Regions from separate parts of the Homo sapiens genome. Here all the other regions are linked to region 1. Evidence: promoter capture Hi-C in 16 types of primary human blood cells and fetal thymus (Javierre and others, 2016). All regions are on one chromosome and are shown on one strand. Each heading gives the region's core, a stretch centred on a gene start or on the middle of the fragment in contact. The rest is flanking DNA. Distances are from core to core; before and after follow the strand shown.

Region 1 (3,436 bases), core at 937-3,436:
TGGGGAGACGGGACAGCCGTTCCAAGCTTGGCCTTTTCCTCTGTGCTTCCTGCCTTTCTCTGCAGAGCGAGCTCCTTGCCCACGGGCCCAGGGAAGGGAAAACAGGATGGCCATGGTTGGCACAGGGCTGTTCTGGGTTTTGGAAGCTCAGGGCTGGGTCAGGGTGAAAGGTCAAGTGCACCTGAGTTTGGGGACCTGTTCTGCGGAGGCAGTTTTGGCTGCAGTTTTTATTTGGTGCTGATGCAATGTTTCCAAACAGCCAGCCAGGTGTTTGCAAATACCTAAGACCTTTTGGAAGACTCTGGCTAGGGTGGGAGGGGTGGGGAAGCCTGCTTCCTGGATGCGGGGGGCAGTATTTCAAGTCACAGGCTGAGGGACTGAATGGTGAGTGTGATCAGGGGCCTGGTTTCTCCCCCACCCCGCCTTTTATCTTTGTTCTTTTTTGAGACAGGGCCTTGTTCTCTTGCTCAGGCTGGAGTGCAGTGGTGCAATGACAGCTCACTGCAGCCTCAACCTCCCAGGCTCACGCCATCCTCCCACCTCAGGCTCCCAAGTAGCCGGCCCCACAGGCGTGTGCCACCACACCTGGCTATTTTAAAAGTATTTTATAGAGGTGAGGTCTTGCTATGTTAACCAAGCCGGTCTCAAACTCCTGAGCTCAACTGATCCTCCTGCCTCAGCCTCCCAAAGCACTGGGATTACAGGCGGGAGACACGACGTCCAGCCTTGTTTTTGTTTAGTTCTCCTAGGAGCGGATTAACAGGGTGTTGGGACCTCCAAAAGGAAAAAAGGCAGTTGTACACTGTTCAGCTGAAAGGAACTAAAAATATTCCCCCGTATTCTTGGTATATAAACCTGGGACAAAGAAAAACACTCTGAACGATTAAGGAAAACTTTGGGACTCTTCATTTCCTTGAAAGCCTTTGAAAACCAACTGACTCCCAAACAACCCGTGTGTGTGTGTGTGTGTGTGTGTGTGTGTGTGTGTGTGTGGCGATTGGGAAATCTGTGGTCAGACCCTCGGGCGAATGAGGAGAAGCTCATCCTCGTTTCTCCGGGCCCTCCTCCCAGGCGTCCGTCCAGGCAGGAAAGCCTCCCGAGAAGGGTTCCAAGTTTTGTGCCAACTCCCCTGAATTCTCGTTCCCCCTTCTGTGAAGTAGTGTTATTTAACACAAGGAAAACTGACCCTAGGCTCGATCCAGAATCTAACTCCCAAATGGGTCCTCAGGCTTAAAAAATACCTTCGCCCACAGCCTCTGTCTCCCCTGAAGAAAACGTTTTCCGTTCGGATGAGGCATCGGCCACGGGCAAGCAAGTGGTCCCGCGCCCCCGTCCCCTACCCAGGCGGCCGGCCTGGCTCCGTCACCGCCCGCAGCGTCCGCCCGGGGCCCGCGCGGGAAGAGGGTCCCAGCCCCACATGCTGCGGGGGCAGCCCCGGGACGCGCAGACGCCAGCGCCGCTGAGGGCCGGGGCCGGGACCGGCCGCGCGGCGGGGGCTTCCAGAGCGGCCGGTCACGCTTCCTTAGGTTTCAAGTTTCTAACTTGCTGAACATTTCAGATTTTAACAGCAAAAGCGGCTGACGTCCCCGCGGGCAAGCGGCCTCTCGGGGTCTGCAGCGCCCCAGGGCATCCGCGCCGCCAGCCCCACGCGCGAGCCCGCGAGGCCCCCGGGCCCCCGCACGTCCCGAGGCTCTGAGTCTGGACGAACGCAGGCCGCGTGGAGGGGCCGGCGACCCCTGCCCGAGAGCCGTCCCCTCCTGGAGGGAGCGAGCACAAGGCGCCCGCGGGACCCGGCCCGAGTGCCCGAGCGTGGAGGGGCGGGCGCGCCCTCGGCGGTGGGGCCGCCCGCAGTGCCCCCAGCGCCCGGGAGGGGGCGCCCGGCGGAGCGCAGGCGGGCGGGCCTCGGGCGGCGGGCGCCCCTGACGTCACCGGCCCGCGGTCGCCAGGGCAACGGCCTCATCCCGCGCGCGTCAGAGCCGCCAGTCTCTTGGCAACCGCCCGATCTCCCGCTCTCCCTCCGCCCGGCGCTCGGCCGCGCGTCGCTCTGGCGTCAAAGCGACGTCAATGGGCGGCCCCCGCCCGGGCGGCGGGGGCGGGGCAGGGGGCGGGGACTACGGGGGGCGGGCCGGGGCGGGCCGGGGCGGGGCCGGGCGCCGCGTGCGGCGGAGCGCGGCGGCTCCGGGCTGACATGCGGCGCGGCCCCGGAGGCAGCAGCAGCGGCGGCGGCAGCCGGAGCAGTAGGCACCCGAGCAGCGCCAGCGGCCGAGCGGGCGGCTTCCTGGCCTGGGCGCTCCGGTGGCGGCGGAGGTGAGGCGGCGGCAGCGGCGGCAGCGGCGGCAGCGGCGGGCTCCGGGCGGGCGGAGGTGGCCGCCGTGGGGGCTCCGCGCGGGCGCCGGGCCGGGGCTCGGGGTTGCAGCCACCGCGCAGGGTCCCTGGCCTTGCGCGCGCGGGGTTCGCGGGCGGGGTTGGCGGCCTGGCCGCCCTCGGGCTCCCCTTTGTTGGGGGGCCGGGGTAGGAGTGAGTCCGCGGGGCTCAGGGGCTGGGGAGCCGGGGGTCAGGTTGGAGCCGACCGCGGGCGGAGATACCGGGTGTGGGGGGCGGGTCCGCGATCCCCGAGGTGCCTGGGATGTCGGGGGTGGGGACCGGACGGATCGCGGGCGGCGGGGGCAGGGTGTGGGAGCGGGGCAGGGGACGGTCCTGGGATCCGGATCGAGCCGACCTCGGGTGGCAGGGCCAGGTGTGGGAGCGGGTCCGCGCCCAGAGGTGCTAAAGGGGTCGAGGGTGGGGACGGAACCGACAGCGGGCGGCGGGAGGCGAGTGTGGAATCCCGGCTCAGGGGGTCCCGGGATCGGGACGGAACCGGACTCGGGCGGCAGGGGCCTCTATGAGAGCGGGTCCGTGCGCCCCGCGGGGCTCAAGAGGGTCGGGGGTCCGGGTGGAGCGGGCGGCGGGGGCGGGTCCACACCTCCCACGGGGCTGGAGGGGCCCGTGGATAGAGTGGGGGCGACAGGCGTGGGAGCAGGTCCCTGCGTCCCGTGGGGACTGGGGGCTCCGCGGGCACGGATGGAGCCGACCGCGGGCGGCGGGGGCGCTGGTGGGCTCTGAGCTCTGTGCGGCCCCGCAGGTGCGCGCGGAGCCATGGTTATCATGTCGGAGTTCAGCGCGGACCCCGCGGGCCAGGGTCAGGGCCAGCAGAAGCCCCTCCGGGTGGGTTTTTACGACATCGAGCGGACCCTGGGCAAAGGCAACTTCGCGGTGGTGAAGCTGGCGCGGCATCGAGTCACCAAAACGCAGGTGCGTGGGGGCGGTGGGACCCAGCCGGCGGGGCCTCCCCACTGGACCCGGGGCGACCCGACCTTTGGCGGGTGGACCCCATGCAGATTCACTGCTCCAGGCTTGATTGTCGTGGTGGGTAAATAGTAACCGTTTTTAGTTC
Region 2 (3,436 bases), core at 364-2,863, 320 kb after region 1:
AAATGTTTAGCTTATTATATGTTTGAAGTTATAGATGTTTTCTAGATTCAGGGATATCCTAATAGCTTGTCTGTAGTTTAATTGTGTGGAATAATTGGATATTAATTGTTGAGGCCCAGGGCTTGCCCATTCTGAGGTAGTTTTTAAATAAGCTTTCTTTATTTTTAGATGACTTCCTAAAGATATGCTATTGTCTAATCAAGTTAAATAATCTCAAGACCTGTAAGTTTGCAAATATATATAATCACTTTCCTCTCCTGATAAATTTGGACTTTCCCATCTTTATTGCTACCTGATAATAAATCAGTGGCTAGTCAGTCTTCATGGTCCATTAGATTTCACTGAGGTTGAGGCCCTTCAATCTTAACTCTGGATTGACTGTTTAAAACATAATGGCACTTGGTTAAAAAAAAATTGAATTTTGAACAAAGTCTGTCTGGTAAGATGTCCTAATTCATCAGAGATCGGCTTCCCTCCCTGACATTGCTGGCACACAGGCATGATTGCTGGTTCCATTGGATATGGATCTGGATTGTCAGCGTATTTGAACAGTATTAAGGGAGGGTTTTGCAGTAGAGACAGAAGGTGACGTAAGGTGGTTCCTAAGGTGGGTTCGGTCAGTCCCCTAATAGTTTGTTTTCAGTGTATTGAGACCAGGAGAATTGATTTACTTCAGACCTATTTTTTGAAACTCCCTGTTGGTCTGGTGTCATGCGTTTAGAGAGACTCTGAACTTCGTTTTCTGTTTTCCTTAGATAATGATAGCACTTCATGAGCACCATATGTGAAGCACACATACGTTCTGTCTGACTCTCAGAACAGTGCCACATTGGCATTGTCATCATTTACAGATGACATCTGAGAGCTAGGGTGACTTGCCCAAGCCCAAGCAGCTGGTAGCAGAGTTGGGATCTTAACCCTCACCACACCGGTGTTTTCAAGAGAGAACTTGGTCGTGGAGAACTGGAGAACAGATACTGCCTAAGTTACATTTAGTTTTAGACTAATTTAATACTCCATTTAAGAAACAAACAGAACAGCTGTGCAGTTAGGAAAGTGGAGGGGATTTGAATGAGGAGGAGGCGGGTTAGAGTTAGAACCGTCTTTGCTGAACAAGTAGTGTGTTTGCAGAAAGGGAAGTTGAAGTTACGTTGTCCTAAAATACAGCAAGGAAGAGGAGGTGCTTAATACCACGGAAAAAAGTCTGTGTCATGTTTCTGTGAGGTTAAAAGTAATTTGATAGTGTATGTCATGCTGCTGACATATTCCATGTGTTTGATATCTTCCCAGCAAAATAATCAGCTCTCATTTTCCCTTACAGAGTCAACTGTTCATTTTATTTCAAAATTGGAGCATGTCGTCATGGAGACAGGTGCTCTCGGTTGCACAATAAACCGACGTTTAGCCAGGTTTGTTTGCCTTTTTTTCATGTAAATTATAAAAACTTCATGTTCTTTTCAAAGACAGTTAATTTCTACATATTAAGCAAGTCATTTTTTCTCTCGTAGTTGTATTTTCCATTTGTGTTCATAAGTGTGTTCTTTTATTTAAATAATAGTGAGGCAGGTGATCGACTTCCAGTGGAAGGTCTGAGACCACCACTCCTTGTTTTTATCATTAGAGAAACTTTAAAAATCAGTTTTTGATGTTTGTGTGTTGGCTGTGCCTGATATTTGCTGCCCTGCCATCTTCCCTACCCCCTCTGATAGACATGGGTCCAGAGGGGGTGGCCGTGCCAGCCTTGGGTTAGCCTCCTCCAGGCACCAGTGGACACGGAGTGGGCTTTCTGCTCTTTGCTGTCTCCAGACAGTAGAGGTGATGGAGCCACCTTCCAAGTTAGCGTGATTGTCACCAGGCCCATCATGCTGCTCGAGCTTCTCTGGCTGCGTCCTCACTTTCACATCCCTAGCTGAGGAAACAGCGAGTCGCATCACGTCATGGAAACATGAAAAATTAAGCTGAAAGGTAGAAAATGGGCCGTAAATTGCTCTTAGCGGGTCTGTTTGGTTAATTGAGGAGTGCCTGTTATCTTGGGCTTAGATCCGCTCTGAGTTCAGTTCAATCAAAAGTTGTGAGTTTTGATAGTTTTATTTTTGGTTAGTTGAAGAAAAGGCAAAGGTTGGTACACTATAAAGGATCACTTACGGATTAAAGGGAGAAGGCACCTCTAATCGGAGCAGAAAACTTGTGCCCACGTTGATGAGAACATTTGAAATTTGAAAATCGATGCCCAAGTCTTTCCAGATGGAGGGCTGGGGAACTCCTTCCAACCCACCCTTGAAGTCTAAATGTGCAGCCTCTGAGCTGTTGAGTAGCTATTATGCGTGGTCCCTGGGAGCTGCCAGGCTCTGCCTTTGAGCTCACATCTGTCTGTATACGTTTTCCTGTAAGCATTTAAGAAAATCTACCACTTTGTGTAAGTGAGCTGGGAGAAGGAAACATGGGTTTTTTCCGGTTGAAGCCCATGGACGACCCCACAGCACACAGTGTTTTTAGAAGGGAAGAGGATGATGGCTTTTCCCTCCATTATGCTAATTACCAAGTGGTTAGTATAATAGCAGTCTGTCTTTTGATAGCTCTGAACATGAGTTTCTTTTTACAAATTTCAAAATCTTGGAGAACTAGCTTTACATTTTCTGTGTATTGCAATTGTTTTTTCTTTAATGTTTTGATTTATGAACCGAATCTCCCCTAACTAAACCAGTGGCCATGGATTGTGGTATAACCAAGCATCTTAAGTGACCACCCAGTTCTTTGATTTTGGGGGGTGTCCCAAGTGTTGGGCTGAGAGAAATCAACTGTTCCCTATTCTAAAAGTTTTCTTTAATCTGGCTGGAGGCACTTTCTTTATGTTTTTCTGGATCATAGATTACCTGAGAATGTGAAATGTGAAGTTAATTTAGGCATTCCAGGTCAGTGCTGGGGAGAGCCCATTGGAGCTCGATGGGGTCAGTAGTATGTGTCAGCTTAAGCATCCTAGTTTGATGCGTGGGTTTGTTTTGGTTGGTTTTAGGCAATCCTAGCCACCCTTGGCTTTCCCATTAGACTGCATTGCCTCTTTACGTTAAGCTTCCTTCATTAAATAGCCACTGCCAGAATACCTGAGTGAGACCAACTGAATTTTACTGTTGAATAATTGGGCTCAGTTTAGCTTTTCATCAGGGTTGTCATGGTACGGTCATTTCAGTTCAAAGCTGAGTCAAGTCAGCTTTGGGAAGCCTCCCAGGCCTGAGTTCAGTTGACTCAGGGCTGTACTTGGCGGCTTATGGAAGAAACGGGGCCCTGATGCAGGTCTGAGTGGTTCAGTGTGGACAGTTTGTCAGACCTCCCTCTTAGGTGGGGTGGGCTTCCCAGCTGCACACCTTTGACTGAGGAACTCTTCATACAACCACTCCCCTTTAAACAGAGCTAGAAATGGAGCTGGCTGGTTTTATAA
Region 3 (3,436 bases), core at 460-2,959, 300 kb after region 1:
CCAGAGTAGCTGGGACTACAGGCATGCACCACCATGCTTGGCTAATTTCTGTATTTTTTGCAGAGATGGGGTTTTGCCACGTTGGCCAGACTGGTCTCAAATTCCTGGGCTCAAGCAATCCACTTGCCTTGGACTCCCAAAGTGCCGGGATCGCAGGCGTGAGCCACCGCGCCTGGTTGAGACTAAGGTTTTCAGAGGATACAAATCCATCAATGTAATTTTCAGCTGTTTCCTGATCAGGAAAGAAGCCTTTCCACCACAGCTATGCAGATTGTTTTACACCATGACACTTCTTGAATATTCATGCTCACCTTTAAAGTTCAGTTCTTCCTGCTGTATTCCAGCTTCTTTCATAACCAACAAACCACTCCTTGGCATACAGTGACTACTTCATTGCCAATTCCGTTCCATCCATTCCTGGTCAAGATCTCTCTCCCTACACCACACCCCACTGACCCTGTGTTTTCCATATTTCAATGGCTCTTGGTAATCACAATTATTATAAATTTTCAACTGTTTGTCTTTTTTTTAATAGAGAGGGGATCTTGCTATGTTGGCCAGGTTGGTCTTGAACTCTTGACCTCAAGCAATCCTCCCACCTCAGCCTCCCAAAGTGCTAGGATTATAAGCATGAGCCACCACGCACAGCCCAACTGCTTGTCTTTTGATGGCTTCCCAACATCACTGATGCTTTCTGCACTATTGACAAAGAGAGTGTTTCCATGTGTCCTTCCCACAGTGAGCACTGGGTACATGCTACCCTTTTTGTATGAATTCACAGTGCAATTAAACCCATGGTCACAAAAAGACAAATGCATTTTAAAAATTAAAACATATACATTGTCAGCAACCAGCAGAGGTGCCTGTAACAGAGGGAGTGTTGGGATGCTGCCAACACCTTGGGTCAGGTCAGCTTTTGCAAATTTTGGCACCAAGTTTACAGAAAAAAAAAAAAAGTCCTTTTCATTTTCACAGCTTTTTGCTTTTTGGAATGCTGACAAGGGCCTGTGGGTCTGTTCCATCATGGAATCAGGATGAAAAGACAGAATTGGAGTCCTCAAAGCAACCCCAGTCTAGTAGGACAGAGATGTCAACACCGCATTAGAGCATCATTCAACAAGGGCAGTTTCTGATGCCTCATGGGCACCTACTAAGTGCCAAGCTTCGTCCACTCCTCAAAGGCAGGTTGGCTGATCCTATTAGCCAATGGAAACCCTGAGTCTAGAGAACTTCATAATGCAGGTCATGCAGCAGGAAGTGGCAAAGCAGGATAGCAGATCCAGGTCTGTTCAACCTTTGCAGGTAAGGAGGGGAAGCTGTTGAGAACCCAAAATGCATTGCACATCTGGGAGGGGGATGACTCCAAGGAGGCCTCAAGGGCCAAACTGGAATGCTGGGAAGGAGGGAGTGGGCATGGGTCCTGGAAGAACACACTGTGCACAGGCAGGAGGCTCCCACGACCAAGAGCTGAAAGTTGCCCGGCACATTCCAGGGACTGGGAGCCATGGAGGGTTCCCAGTAAGAAACAGCAGGATCGAATCTGTATTTCCCACAGAGCCCTCTGGCAGAAGGACAAATGGTCACCTAGAAAAGGAGGAAACAGCATAGATACTGCTGTAGTGATCCAGGTACACTCAGGAATGGCCAAGAGGAGGAAAAGGAGCAGACATGGTTGAGAGAAGCCAAGGAATTAGAATGGATGTGAATCAGACAACTTAGGGCAACCCAGGTGGGCTCAGGCTATAGATGACTGGCATTTACTAAATGCTTGAACAGAACGTCAAGAGATGGGAGGAGAAGGATAAAATGAAGTCAGCTGGAGATATGTTGAGCTGAGGTGCCTGGCACACTTCTAAGTGGAGATCTGTCTTCCGAATTTGTGTCTGTGCACCTGCCACAGTATCTGACACATCAGACATGCCCCCCAAAATATAAGATGGATGGACGGACAGATGGATGGATGGATAGATGGATGAATGACTCAGTGGGATGGATAGATGGATGGATGAATGGATGAATAAATGGGTGGGTGAAAGGACAGATGGATGGATGGATGGATGTCTGGGTGAGTGGATGGATGGATGGATGGATGGACGGACTAACAGACAAATGGGTGGATGGCTAGATGAGCGGATTGGTGGGTGAAAGGACAGACATATGAATGAACAGATGAAGGGAGGAATGAATTCTCGACTTTAAATAATGAGATTTAGAAAATATGATTAAGTACAAAGTTTATTCAAGCCCAAAGCTTAAGGATGGCCACCTGGGAGCCTAGATTCAAGTTCCCCTGAATAGATGCTCCAATTAGCAGCAGTGGGTTCTTTTTTTTTTTTTTTTTTTGAGACAGGGTCTCACTCTGTCACCCAGTCTGGAGTGCAGTGGTGTGATCACAGCTTACTGCAGCCTCAACCTCCCAGATTCAAGCAATCCTCTCTCCTCAGCCTGCCTCAGTAGCTGGGACCACAGGCACATGCCCTTATGCTTGGATAATTTTTTAAAATTTTTTATAAAGACAGGCTCTCACTATGTTGTCTCAAACAAAAACAAAACAAAAAGCCCCACTCTCCTGTCTCTCTGGGCCTGATAACTTTGGCACACCTCACATAGCTCAGACTGCTCTGTGCTATTTTTTTCCCCATTTCTCCCCTTTTCATCAAGACCTTTCAAAGAAGGCCTCATAGAAAAATGCAAATTGTTTTGGCTCCCTTTATGTTCAGGAGCTTAGTCCTGAGTTGCTAGGAAGGTTAATTATCAGATGGCCTTGTCCCATGTAGGGGAGGGGAGATGTATTAAGCCATTCTTGCATTGCTATAGAGAAATAACCAGCTGGCTGCACTGGCTCGCGCCTGTAATCACAACACTTTGGGAGGCCGAGGTGGGCAGATGGCTTGAGCCCAGGAGTTTGAGACCAGCCTGGGCAGCATGACAAAACCTCACCTTTACTAAAAATTCAAAAAAAATTAGCCAGGCATGGTGGTACATGCCTGTAGTCTCAGTCACTCGGGAGGCTGAGGTGGGAGAATCACCTGAGCCTCGGGAGGAGAAGGCTGCCGTGAGCCATGATCATGCCACTGTACTCTAGCCTGGGTGACAGAGTAAGAACCTATCTTGCATGAAAATAAATAAATAAGTAAATAAATAAATAAATAAAAATAAGAAATACCTGAGATTGGGTAATATATAAGAAAAGAGGTTTAATTGGCACATGGTTCTGCAGGCTTTACAGGAAGTATGGTGCTGGCATCTGTTCAGCTTCTAGGAAGGCCTTAGGAAGCTGACAATCAGGGCAAAAGGTAAAGGGAGAGTGGGCATGTCACAAAGGGAAAGCAGGAACAAGAGAGAAAGAGGGAGAGAGTGGCAGGTGAGGTGCCACACACTTTTAAAAGACCAGATCTCATGAGAACTCACTATCACGAGGACAGCACCAAAGGGA
Region 4 (3,436 bases), core at 250-2,749, 270 kb after region 1:
GACCAGCCCAGGGCAGACCCAGCCAGAGCACCCAGTGGGCCCCAAAGGACCCGCCTTGGGTTAAGGGGGTGCGGGAGGGGGTCACCACAGAGCCAGCAGCTTCCAGAGAAGGCTGAGGGTGGGGACCTGGGCATAGCCCAAGGTGCCAGTGCCCACCTGGGGTCTTGGTGGCCGCAGGGAGAATGTGGGCCAGGTGCCGCCGCACAGCTCCATCCGGCCTGACCCTCAGTCCCAGCCCCACCCTGGGCCACTGCTGCTGGGTCCCCCCTCACAGATGCAGAGACCGCACAGGCGGCAGAGTCAGATGGACGCAGCTTCCACACGGGCCCCACCTAGGCCATCTGCGCCCCAGCAAGGGAGACGCCAGCCCAGCATGCCTGGCTCAGCGCAGTGCCACCACAGGCCCGACCCTCACCCCCCCGCCCCGGGGAAGAAAAAGTAAGAGTTTCACAGAGATCAGAGAAAGAAAAGGCACGCCTCCCACAGCTGAGCAAGGCCATGGGGCAGGGCTGGCCCCTGTGCCCACCAGCCCTCGCAGGGGCCGTCCCACCTGGGAGAGGCCTCAAGGCCATTGGCTGCCTCGACGGGAACTGCAGCCGAGTGGGGCCTGCAGCCGGGGCCTCGGGCCTGTCGCAGGTGTGGAGCCCGGCCGCCTGAGGACGTTCTGCAGGGTGGGCAGCGCTGGGGACGGCGCAGGGGGACCATCCCCTCCGGCCCAGGGGCTGGGCAGGACCCAGTGTGGGCTGCATGGGGCTCCTGAGGGTGGAGAAGGGGTGGGAGGCCAAGGGAACAGAGGGACAGATGTGCGGGATCTGGGGTGCGAGGGCAGGGCTCCAACTGGTCTGGGAGCGTGTGTGGGGGTGTGGTGTATATTTGATATGTGTGGTGTGTGGGGGGTGTGTGTTGGATATGTGGTGTGTGATGTGTGTGTGGTGTGTGGGGTTTCTGTGACGTGTGTGGTGTGTGTGTGGTATACGTGTGGTGTGTGGGGTTTCTGTGATGGGTGTGGTGTGTGTGGTGTGTCTGTGACGTGTGTGGTGTGTGTGTGTGGTATATGTGTGGTGTGTGGGGTTTCTGTGACGTGTGTGTGATGTGTGTGTGGTGTGTGGTGTACAATGTACCGTGTATAGTGTGTGTGGTGTGTGTGTGTGTGATGTGTCTGGTATGTGCTGTGTGTGTTGTATATGTGATGTGTGGGGTGTGTGTGTGGTGTGTGTTGTATATGTGATGTGTGTGGTATATGTGGTGTGTGATGTGAGTGGTGTGTGTGTGGTGTTTATGTGATGTGTGGGGTGTGTGGAATGTGGGGTGTGTGGTATATGTGTGGTGTGTGATGTTTCTGTGGTGCGTGTGGTGTGCGATGTGTGTGATGTGTGTGTGATGTGTGTGATGTGTGTGTGGTGTGTGTGTGGTGTATGATGTGTGTGCAGTGTGGAGTATCTGTGGTGTGTGTCTGTGTGGTGTGTGTGATGTGTATGTTGTGTATCTGGTGTGTGTGTGGTATATCTGTGGTGTGTGTCTGTGGTGTGTGTGGTGTGTGTTGTATAGGTGGTGTGGGGTGTGTATGTGTGGTACATCTATAGTGTATGGTGTGTGTGTGGTGTGTGTGGTGTGTGTTGTATAGGTGGTGGGGTGTGTGTGTGGTACATCTATAGTGTATGGTGTGTGTGTGATGTGTGTGGTGTGTGTCCGTGGTGTGTATGCGTGGGGGTGTGTAAGCCACTGTCTCGGAGATCATTTTTCTCAAATATCTCTACAGATCGAGCCCTGTCGGGAGGTTTTTCCCGGCCTCTGCGATGGCTCCTCCGTGGCTCCCCGGCATTGTTTCCGCGGCCCAGCTTAAGCCTGTCCTCAGCGATTTGCCGCCCCACTGCACCCGAGCTCAATGCCAGCCCCTCACACAAAGGCCACATTCACTTCATCTACAGGATTCCCGTAACGCCAGCAGTCTGCCCCACAAAGGCTGGCGCTGCAATTTTCCACTCCAGGGCCCCGCGGGGCTCACACACAAATCCGCCTGTGTAGGGCGGATGGGGCATTGTTGTGGCTCAGCGGGGAATGTGCCTGAGCTAAGCCCTCGCCCTGCTTCTCCTCGAGGTCAGCAGGTTACACAGGATGGTCCCCTGCAGACCCCCGAGCTGCCCTCAGAGTGCAACGTGGGGCCGGTCATGTCCCGCCAGCCCTTTCCAGAACAAAGCCAGCAGGGAGAGTGTGCCATAGACCCCCGAGGCCCTCCGAGGCTGGAGTTAAGTTGGGGAGAGGATCCTCTTTCGGGGGTTTAGAGATAATTCTGTCCCACAGCACACACTGGGCGCTCACCACTGCCAGGACGTGCAGGTCATGGGTGACGGGGACAGAGCCAGTGACGTCCCGCCCTCCCCCTGCGGGCCAGCACCTGGTGCGCCCATCACGGGGTATTACTTTTACGGTGGCGGCAAATGCTACTTCATTGAGTTTATTTTTATCATGAAAATTTTTACACAGTCTCAAAAGTAGAGACCATGGAACAATGAGCCCTTCACATACTCCTCAGCCAGATCCAACAATTAGGAGGATTTTGCCCTGCTTCCCGCTTCTCTTGGTTTTTTTCTTTACTGGAGTATTTTAAAGCAAAGCACAGACGCCACGTCATTTCACCCCCGCGCACTTCAGGTACCTCTCCTACAAATCGAACATTTCTTTCTATAAGCGCAAATTCCCTCTCACGTTTGACAGGATTCCTAACAATTTCTCGATGTCATCTAAAACCTAGTCCCTCATCAGATAACCCTGATTGTCTCAAATATGTTCTTTTACAGTTGATGTGTTTGCATCATGACCTAAAAAGAATCTGCTCACTGCTCTGGTTGTTACGTAGGTATCATTTTTTCTGAAATTGCTTCTGCGTTCCTGAAAAGGTCATACGTCTTTTCCTCTTTTGATATGTTAATACAAAGAACTTTATGAATCAGTTGTCTAATGCTAAACCAATCTCACATGATTGGAACCAACCCAGCTTAGTTACTGTCTTAGCCCAGGTTTCCAAGAAGAGGGGGCCTGGGGAGCGTCTAGGTGCAGATGTTTTGTTGGGAGGTACCACCCCAGGGAAGTGAAAGGGAGGTGAGGAAGGGAGGGAGGGTACTTTGCAGAACTGGCTCTTCTCATCTCCAGGTGGCCAAATCTGCTCCAAAGGATGATGGCCTCCCTCACCCCGTCCCCAACTTTCTGACGTGTCTTTCTGGGCCCTTCGGGGAACCATGGGGAAGCAGAACCCTTGGGATCAAGGCAGCTCAGCCCGAGGCTCTCACCAGGATGGGTGGGGGCACCCCAGCCCAGGCTTGCCTCCCAGGAGCGCTAGATGGGACGATGGGTTCAGCTCTGTTACGTTTAGGATTTTCCACCTGTGCTCTGAATGCAGCTGGCCTGTAGCTCTCTCTTGTATTGTGCTTATCCGGTT

Evidence for each region. The method cuts DNA at HindIII sites, captures the fragments that hold promoters and counts their contacts. A CHiCAGO score of 5 or more calls a contact.
Region 2: a fragment that was not itself captured here is called in contact with the fragment with the promoter of SIK1 in region 1 in 1 of 17 cell types (total CD8 T cells); the score reaches 5.7 in total CD8 T cells.
Region 3: a fragment that was not itself captured here is called in contact with the fragment with the promoter of SIK1 in region 1 in 2 of 17 cell types (endothelial precursors and M1 macrophages); the score reaches 6.1 in endothelial precursors.
Region 4: a contact is called between a fragment that was not itself captured here and the fragment with the promoter of SIK1 in region 1, in 2 of 17 cell types (endothelial precursors and M0 macrophages). The highest score is 12.4, in endothelial precursors.

What each region holds. Positions count from the first base shown.
Region 1 is chr21:43,425,881-43,429,316 of GRCh38, reverse strand. It overlaps SIK1 (salt inducible kinase 1), which reads left to right and starts at 2,186. Exons shown (of 14, transcript NM_173354.5): 1 at 2,186-2,307; 2 at 3,125-3,294. The coding sequence starts at 3,139. The HindIII fragment of the contact is 3,848 bases long and covers 29-3,436 here.
Region 2 is chr21:43,102,288-43,105,723 of GRCh38, reverse strand. U2AF1 (U2 small nuclear RNA auxiliary factor 1) reads left to right here. Exons shown (of 8, transcript NM_006758.3): 2 at 1,322-1,409. Among named protein-coding and RNA genes, the nearest start is that of U2AF1, 3.6 kb to the left of the region's middle. The HindIII fragment of the contact is 2,917 bases long and covers 155-3,071 here.
Region 3 is chr21:43,126,526-43,129,961 of GRCh38, reverse strand. The region is part of intron 3 of LOC101928369 (a long non-coding RNA gene); the gene reads right to left. Among named protein-coding and RNA genes, the nearest start is that of FRGCA, 13 kb to the left of the region's middle. The HindIII fragment of the contact is 1,089 bases long and covers 1,165-2,253 here.
Region 4 is chr21:43,158,091-43,161,526 of GRCh38, reverse strand. LOC107987300 (a long non-coding RNA gene) reads left to right here. Exons shown (of 3, transcript XR_007067885.1): 2 at 2,799-2,853. Among named protein-coding and RNA genes, the nearest start is that of CRYAA, 9.2 kb to the left of the region's middle. RefSeq lists an enhancer at 1-452. The HindIII fragment of the contact is 4,113 bases long and covers 1-3,436 here.